Regions from separate parts of the Homo sapiens genome. Here all the other regions are linked to region 1. Evidence: promoter capture Hi-C in 16 types of primary human blood cells and fetal thymus (Javierre and others, 2016). All regions are on one chromosome and are shown on one strand. The core of a region is centred on a gene start or on the middle of the fragment in contact, and the rest is flanking DNA. Distances in the headings are between cores, read along the strand shown.

Region 1 (2,902 bases), core at 223-2,722:
ATTACAGGCACCCACTACCACGCCTGGCTAATTTTTGTATTTTTAGTAGTGACAGGGTTTCACCATGTGGGCCAGGCTGGTCTCAAACTCCTGACCTCAAGTGATCCGCCTGCCTTGGCCTCCCAGAGTGCTGGGATTACAGGCGTGAGCCAGCGTGTCCAGCCAATTGCCTCAATTTTAAGGATGAGGAAAATGGTGCTCACCGAGAGGCCAGGTAGCTAGCTACTTCAAAGTCACACAGCCACTGAGGAGCAGAGCCATGAGGACTCGACTGTCCCTTGGGAAGACGAGTTATTAAAAAAAAAACAAACACCCACCAAAGCAGCAAACTCCATGCCTACAGGGGCTGGGCAAGTAAAAATAAGGAGATGGGCAGGCATGAGAAAACAGGAGCAGTGGGAAGGACTTGCCTATTCTCTGACCTTGGCAGCTGCTGACCAGCAGCAGGTCATGCCATGCAGCAGTGTGGGTGTCATGTGGCTGATTTTCTAGTATCTCAACTGATGGGGGAGAGCCAGAGTTTGCATGAAATTATCCCAATTTTTAAAGAAGGAGCCAACAGTGAGCCAAACACGATACCACTACAGAACAAATCTGGTCTAGGGGACTGCTATTGAGGATGAATTCCTTTGGCTTAACACCCATCCTCCTGTTCATTCATCTTCTCAAAAGCAAACATGCTCTAAGTGAGGAGGGAGGTCACCTTCAGCCATAAGGCGCCATTCTACTGGCGAGAAGTGGTGGGGAATGTGGGACAGAGAAGACTTTGTAGCTGGGGAAGAAATTAAGTCATAGTCACCAAGGATTTGGCCCTGCCTTCACCGGTTTCCCTGGGCGGCAGGGAGGGCCCTACCATAGAATGTTACCGACAAGTGGGAGCAAATGGGGGCCCCGGCCCTGTTCGTTCAGCTGGGTGAAAACGAGGGTCTTGGGGGCACAGGTTTAGGTGGGATTGGTGGGGGATAGTAGCTTTCTTTTTCAATTGTTGAACACAGAAGAGAAACCCAAAGCAAGGCGCCAATCATTAAAACACACAAACACAGACACACGCGCAAGTCACCTTGCTCGCTGGGTACTTTAGTTACCTCAAACGGAAATGGGGTTTTCGGCCCCTCTTTTCCTGCCTACCTCATGGGACTGTTGCCAAAGAGGAAGGAACCGGAAGGAAAGGTCTTGGGACAGGACAGGGGCTAAGCAGCCGTGCATTCGTTATGATGTGAGGGGTGCCGGGGGCTGGAGACTGAGGTCGGGGAGAGCACGGGCCCTGGGTCCTTAGTGCCAGCGGGCGGCCAGAACCAGAGTGCGGGGGTCTAGGGATTCGGGGACCCAGACGCACCAGGCCCACATATCCCGCTCAGAAGGGTGCGGAAAGCCGCGCGCACACGGCAGGGACACGCCCCAGACACGCCCCGCCCCGCACTTCTGGGGCGCGACCCGGAAGCGGAAGGGAACCCGTTTCTTTTCCTTCCCCAGTGCGTCTTTCCTGCGTCGTTCCGGCGCGGCGGGAGCAGAGATCTGCGGCCGTTTGCAGCTTGCGGTAGGGAGGCGTGGTGGTCTGAAGCCTCCGAGCAGCCGCGGCCATGGCGGATGTAACCGCCCGTAGTCTGCAATACGAGTACAAGGCGGTGCGTTTGGTCTTGGGGAAGGATTCCAGGCTCAGGAGTCCAATGGGGAGGGGGAGGCTGAAAAAGGGAGTTTCAGTCTGAAGGCCTACAGGAGAGCCACGAAAACGAAGGGGAAATGGAATCGGGGTGAAGGTGGGGGTTATACGATGACGTGAATAACCTACTGGGGTCTGGGGAGCGCTAAGATCTCTCTAGGAGGAGTTTCTCGAGTACCTTCAACGCTAAGCCCTCCCCCTTCCACACGTCACTCCCAACCCACTCACTACTTTTCACAGGTGTGGGTTATGATGGGCGCTGTTAGGAACAAGAATTGTTTAGCTGATTCGACAGCGCATAAGACTTATTCAGCTGTACGCTTCTGCACAGCGTTATACTATGCAATTCTTAAGGAAAATATATTTTTATTACGATTAGTGATGATAAGCAACTAGTTACTACGATTTTTTCCATCAGCTGGGGTAACTATGATAGTAGGAATTGGCCCTGCTCATGTCAAAGCTTCAATAATGTTTTGATCTTTTCAGAACTCGAATCTTGTGCTCCAAGCTGACCGTTCTCTCATTGACCGGACCCGCCGGGATGAACCCACAGGAGAGGTGCTGTCCCTTGTTGGGAAGCTGGAGGGCACCCGTATGGGAGACAAGGCTCAACGGACCAAACCGCAGATGCAGGAGGAAAGAAGAGCCAAGTGAGTGCCAAGGGGATACTATTTTTTCCTTCAGATCCAAAGTCTCTTCCCTTTAACATTCGAGCAGCATTTTTGCTGGAATGCTTGGTGTAAGATCAGTGGCATTAAAACAATTCAGTGAAGGTAAAAACAGACCAGGAGAGTTTAAAGATTTTTTGGCCTTAACAAGTGCATCTCAAGTGGAAAATAACTTGTTGGTACCTTTTTCTTACATGTGTGTTTCTGGTCCATAGACAGATCTTAATTTTCTTCAGGGTATTTTCAAGACCCTTGCTATTCCTATGTCCCAGTAATTCGTTTTCCTTTTTTCCCATTACTAACTTCCTACCCCTACTTTTTCCATTTACTCTTGTCCACGTTCTACCTATTTTGTTGTAACAAACTAATTTAAGCATCCATAGTATGAAAGACAGGTTTCTTTCTTAGTTTGCATTTTTTTCCTTTATTTTTTTTTTTTAAGATTTCTTGGGGATATGTTTCAAAAACTTACCTTTACCTCATCATTATCTTTTGATCCTGAATATCTTGGTGTCTTGCTCCCTTTCCTATGATGAAGTTTCCAAAATTCCTAGGCTTAGTTTGATTAAAG
Region 2 (3,166 bases), core at 127-2,626, 270 kb before region 1:
TATATATTATTTACATTTGTATTGATCTTAGTAGCTGGTATGACACTCAACATTTGTTGAGTGTATAAGTAATTCCGTTCTCTCCTCTCACCTATACTTTTCCTCTTTTCCCCTCTTTACTGATGTTTCTCACCTTGGCCTAGAAAAATGTTTACATCTTCTCCATATTAAAAACAAAACTAGGGTTCCTCTTCTACCTAAGATGTAGAAAGCTGGCATGAAAGACAAAATGCAGTGGATAATTAAGGAGGAATGCTTAATTAATAGGAAGAATATTGAGCAATGAAGACAGTCTCAAAGAAGAGCGGGGAGACCTAGGGTTTTATGGGGGCACTTAGACAAGGGAGCCATCTGTATCTTCTGTAAATCTTATGGAAGTCATGCAGAAGGATGGAGATGGGTCTTATCTTGGCATATGCCAGAGCAGGGCAGAACTTTGCAGTTAGCCATTTCCTGAGCCACAAAAAGATAGGGAAATTTCTTAACTGTTGCTGTTTTTAGGCATATGAGGCTCAGGCAGAGTTTACTGTTGTCAGTCCCTTCTTTTTTCGTGAATATCATTCATTACTGAACAACTAAGAGGTGATCGCAAAGCTTTAGAGGGGCAAAGCAGGTATAAGAAATGGCCTCCCAAGGGCTCTTGTTGGTGGTGGTTTTGCAGAGTCAGTTGAGCCATCTGATGAAAGGTGGTGGCAAAGATCAGTTGTTTTAGAGTGCTAGAAATCTGGCATCTTTAAAGAAGCATGACTGAAATGTAAAAGAGAAATATTCATATCAATGGTTGAATTGAAGTACAGAGCCTGAGGGTAACCTGTTTACTGGATTCCAAGTGGTCAATGGAAGAAAACCTTTTGGTTTTGCAGCAGTGCTTCTTGAGTTTCTTGAAGCTCAAGCTAGGATGGTGATGCTCTTGGTGTTGGTCAGTCTTGGTTCTTGCTCATATAGAGACATGCATATACAAGCATTTTACTGGTCTTCCTTAGTAGTCCAGACAGTGGCCTGTGCAGGGAGAATTCAGCCCCTGCATGGTCTGCCATGGTGATGAGTCCTTTGAGGTTTATATCAAGTCTTTGGGCTGTAGGTTATAGGGGGTTCTGCAGATCCTGGACAAAGAGCCAGTGCAAGGGTACCTGGAATCCTGACGTAGAATCTAGATGGTGAGCCTTCATTCAGTTCCTGGTGATGCTGAGTCAGGCAGGAGGTAGGAAAATTAAAAATGTTAGTTTGGATAACCATAGCCAGATAATGATGACATCTGGAAGAATTGAAAATTTGATAAGAATCCACAATTTAGGCAAGGTGACAGCATCCAGTCCAATTTGCAGGTAAGTACTAAAATTGTTTTTTCCATAGGGTGAAAGGAAGTCAGTTAAATCTTTACCATACAAAACAGTTTGCATATCCATCAGTTACCTGTGATTTATAAAAAAATGAACAGCAATGACCAGAGCCAGAATCTGATAACCCAGATGGGTGTGCATAGATTTCCATTGAAACACAAAATTCCTCTCTACAGTCACTTCCATCTTGATAAAAAATAATCTCAAAGAACTGTTATTCTTGGCGCGGAGGCTCACTTCTGTAATCCCAGCACTCTGGGAGGCTGAGGCAAGCGGATCACTTTAGGTCAGGAGTTCGAGACCAGCCTGGCCAACATGGTGAAACCTCATGTCTACTAAAAATACAATACAAAAAAAAAAAAAAATTAGCTGGGCGTGGTGGCATGTGCCTGTAGTCCCAGCTACTCAGGAGGCTGAGGCACGAGAATCGTTTGAACCCAGGAGCTAGAGGTTGCAGTGAGCCAAGATCATGCCACTGCACTCCAGCCTGGGCAACAGAGTGAGACTGTCTCAAAAAAACAAACAAAGAAACAAACAAAAAACTATTATTCTTGATCAACACTTGATCACAAAATAAGGCTGGTCTCATTAGACTTGTCTGATTACTCACATAGGTAGAGTAAGAATGGTAATTTGCCACACAGGTCTTCTTAAGTTTACTTTGTTGAAAGTTTTCATCAGGACTTTCAGACTGAGCTTTTAAAATTCTCTTGAGGCTAGGAAGCCAAGCTAAGAACTTGCCATCATACTTTAAATGCAGTACCTATAAATTTGGACAAATTCCTCTTTTCTTGAGTCTCCAGAATATCCTAAGCTTCCTGGTACTGTCAGGAAGTGACCTTTCTTACTCACCTGTAAGGCTGAAACCATGTACTCCAGTGCCAGTTTTCCCAAGAGCATTTTGTAAACATTGGCTCCAAAAAGTCAACCTTAGTTCTTTAAAGTATCTGGTCATAGCTGATTAAATGAGCATCATTCTCAAACATGACATTCGGGGAGGCACCAGAGTAAAAGAAAAAAACTATCTGTAGATGACAAAAGATTTAAAGGCCTTTGTTGCATAACCAATGTTTCTAATTCTGTCCCGTAAACAAGGAGGACAGATTCTTATTGAACCTGTGCAAATAATTATATTGCAATGAAATTAAGAATACTCCAAATTCTGGAAGGATCAGGCAGTAAGAAAAATACACCATTTGCAAATTGATATGGTTTGGCTCTGTGTCCCCACCTAAATTTCATGTCAAATTGTAATTCCCACATGTCAGCAGAGGGGCCTGATGGGATATGATTGGATCATGAGGGCAGATTTCCCCCTTGCTGTTCTCATGATAGTGAGTGAGTTCTCACAAGGTGTGTTTGTTTGAGAATGTGTGGCACTTCCCCCATCACTCTCTCTCTCTCCTGCCGCCATGGTAAGACATGCTTGCTTCCTCTTGGCCTTCCACCATGATTGTAAGTTTCCTGAGGCCTCCTAGCCATGCGTCCTGTACAGTCTGCCAAACTATGAGTCAATTAAACCTCTTTTCTTCATAAATTACCCAGTCTCAGATAGTTCTTTATAGCAGTGTAAGAATGGACCAATACACAAATGTTCATTTTAAAGAACATAGTCTACTAAATTGTTATGAGTTATAGATAGCTTAAGATAAAGGAGCTCTTTATGTATTCAGAAAATAGAACATTAAAACAACAATAGTCCAAGCAAAACCCACAACCATCCCCCATCAGTTCATTCAGTCCTATGTCATTAATTCCTGTTCTGCTCAATCTTAGGTTAGTAGTCTCATGAATCCATCTGTTTCTCAACTAGAGTTTTAGAAATC
Region 3 (2,884 bases), core at 197-2,696, 290 kb before region 1:
TACAATTCTAGCCACGGTGATGAAAATATGTTTCATATTTTGTGGAAATCAAAATTTTAACTTTATTAATCTGGGTGAAAAATGAAATTGTTTTAATGTGCATTTTCCTGATTACTTAAGAAGTTTTATGTCTTTTATGAAATGTTTGTCATACTCTTTGAATTATAGTGGCTTTGTATATTCAGATGTTAAATCTTTATCTGTTACACAAATTACATATATGTTATTCCTGTCAGTGGCTCATATTTTTTTTTCTTTCTATTGAAGCATTCATTGAATGTCAGTCAGTCTTTTAACTTTTATTTCTAGATCATACAGCCATTTAAATGTTTCATATAGTAAAATCTTCAAATATTTTCCTTTATAGCTCCAAAGTTTTATGCCTTAAGAAAGCTAGCCCTATCACAAGAATATAAAAGTAATCCTTTTTGTTTTTAAAATTTGAATTGTGGTAAAACATATATAACATACAATGTACCATTTTAGCCATGTTTCAAGCTTACAGTTCAGTAGCATTGAGCACATTCACATTGTGGTACAGCCATCACCACCATCCATCTCCAGAACTTTTCTGTCATCCCATATTGAAACTCTCTCTTTGTGTTTTCTTATAATGCTTTTGCTTGTTTCCTTTAATTCCTTATAGTTCACTTTTGTATGTTAAGTGAGGTAAGGATGAGTCCATTCATCATTCCTCCACTCATCTAAAATCCACTGCTGTCACATTCTAAAGTACTGAACACATATGGGCCTGTTCTGTAGTTTTGAATTTGTCTATCCTACGCTGGCCTTCTGTTATGGGTTGATAGTATGGATCTTGAAGTTAAGGGAGTGTCAATTCTGTTTCTAGTTTGCTAAGATAATCTTCATTCTTTTCCTTTCTCATGATAGTTTTGAATTTTTTCCATTATTCTTTTAGAATCACATGAAATGAATGAGGATAAACATTTCCTTTTTTTTTTTTTTTTTTTTTTTTTTTGAGACAGTCTCACTCTTGTCACCCAGGCTGGAGTGCAGTGGCACGATCTCAGCTCACTGCAACCTCTGCCTGCCAAGTTCAAGCTATTCTCTTGCCTCAGCCTCCTGAGTAGCTGGGACTATAGGCTCATGCCACCACCCTCAGCTAATTTTTCTATTTTTAGTAGAGACAGGGTTTCACCATGTTGTCCAGGCTTGTCTTGAACTCCTGACCTCAAGTGATCCACCCACCTTGGCCTCCCAAAGTGTTGGGATTACAGGCGTGAGCCATCATGTCCGGCCAACGTTTCCTTCTAATCAGTTAAAATGATGAGTTACTTTAATAGGTTTCCTAATATCAAACTGTGTGAATTCTAGATGCAGTGGCTTTTTCAGTGTGTCCTATTCTTTTTATTATACATACAAAGGCAACAAGACCCTATCAAAAGAACGAAATGAAAAAAGAAAGAAGCTAAGCATTTCAAAAGAAAAGCATGTCTATTCTATTTGCTTTTATTTTACTTAGGATTTTGGCGTCTATATTAATCTCCTCAGGCTTTGGCCCATAGTTTTCTTCCCCTCCACCCCCTACTTCTGTGTGTGTGCTTTCCTTTGTCTAGTTATGTAAAAGGGGTAATTCAATCCTTGTAGAATGAGATGGGAAGTGCTTTTCCCCTCTCATACTCTAAAACAGTTTTATAGTACAGAAATGATAGTTCCTTGATGGGTTGATAGAAGTGACCTACAAAGCCATTTGGGCCTGTTTTTAGGGTGTCTTCGTTTGCTGATGCCATGTTGATGGACAACTAGAACACAGATCCTGCCACGTGATCCCTTCCTCCTGTGTTAGGTAATCCGTCTCAGCTTGCCATGGCCTGGGCCAGCCAGTTACCATTGAGAAGAGAGTAGAGGTCATTGAGAATCCCCCTTTTCTGGAGCTCAGTTGAAGCACAGAATAAAGATCAAGGTCTGGCCTTCTAACTGATGATGTTAACATGAGATTAGTTTTCATCTTAATAGAATGGACGTAGGCTGGGCATGGTGGTTCACGCCTGTAATCCCAGCACTTTGAGAGACCTAGGCGGGTGGATCACGAGGTCAAGAGATCGAAACCATCTTGACCAAAATGGTGAAACCCCATCTCTACTAAAAATACAAAAATTAGCTGGATGTGGTGGCGTGCACCTGTAATCCCAGCTACTTGGGAGGCTGAGGCAGGAGTATTGCTTGAACCTGGGAGGCGGAGGTTGCAGTGAGCTGAGATTGTACCATTGCACTCCAGCCTGGGCAACAGAGCCAGACTCTGTCTCAAAAAAATAAAATAAATAAATAAAATAAAGTGGATATGTAATTGCTAGGAGGAGTCAGGTGGTGATTCTTTTCCAACAAGCAAGGGGATGTTATTAGATTAAGGCTTCTTGCTGATTCAGAAGCTTCTAATAGCTCTGTTCAGATTGCCAGACAGAGCACTGGACTATGGGTCAGGTCATCTGTTTTCAGCCAGCTGTGTGATCCTGGGCAAATCACCTATCCTTCTGGGCTTTGGTTTTCTTACCTGGTTTAGAGAGGAAGTTGACTTAATTCAGTGACTGTTGTGGTGGCAGGATCAGAATCTCCTCAGGCTTTGGAAACCGACGTTTTTTAATGCTTAGAAACAAACTACCCATTTTTTTGACATTTATGAGGCAATTGGAAATTTTAACACTGACTGGATAGTTGTTGATATTACGGAATTGTTAACCTTTTTAATGTGTGATAATGGTATTGTTAGGATTTTAAAACAGTCATTTTTTATTTTGGGGTTCCATACTGCAATATTTTTGGATGGAATGAATTTAAAAAGAAAAGTGAACACCAACTAGACTTCTCTAAGATCTGTATAAGCACTTAATTATCTGTTTTGTTTCTGGCACTGATTGGTGTTTAC

The links. Contacts are between HindIII fragments. The CHiCAGO score rates a contact against its expected background, and 5 or more counts as called.
Region 2: a fragment that was not itself captured here is called in contact with the fragment with the promoter of SNRNP200 in region 1 in 1 of 17 cell types (total CD4 T cells); the score reaches 5.9 in total CD4 T cells.
Region 3: a fragment that was not itself captured here is called in contact with the fragment with the promoter of SNRNP200 in region 1 in 1 of 17 cell types (total CD8 T cells); the score reaches 7.1 in total CD8 T cells.

The regions. Positions count from the first base shown.
Region 1 is chr2:96,304,116-96,307,017 of GRCh38, reverse strand. It overlaps SNRNP200 (small nuclear ribonucleoprotein U5 subunit 200), which reads left to right and starts at 1,472. Exons shown (of 45, transcript NM_014014.5): 1 at 1,472-1,625; 2 at 2,150-2,313. The coding sequence starts at 1,581. RefSeq lists enhancers at 1-391, 984-1,063, 1,313-1,607. The HindIII fragment of the contact is 15,934 bases long and covers 1-2,125 here.
Region 2 is chr2:96,569,455-96,572,620 of GRCh38, reverse strand. No RefSeq gene overlaps it. Among named protein-coding and RNA genes, the nearest start is that of ARID5A, 34 kb to the right of the region's middle. The HindIII fragment of the contact is 1,560 bases long and covers 597-2,156 here.
Region 3 is chr2:96,597,004-96,599,887 of GRCh38, reverse strand. The region is part of intron 20 of KANSL3 (KAT8 regulatory NSL complex subunit 3); the gene reads left to right. Among named protein-coding and RNA genes, the nearest start is that of KANSL3, 40 kb to the left of the region's middle. The HindIII fragment of the contact is 1,892 bases long and covers 501-2,392 here.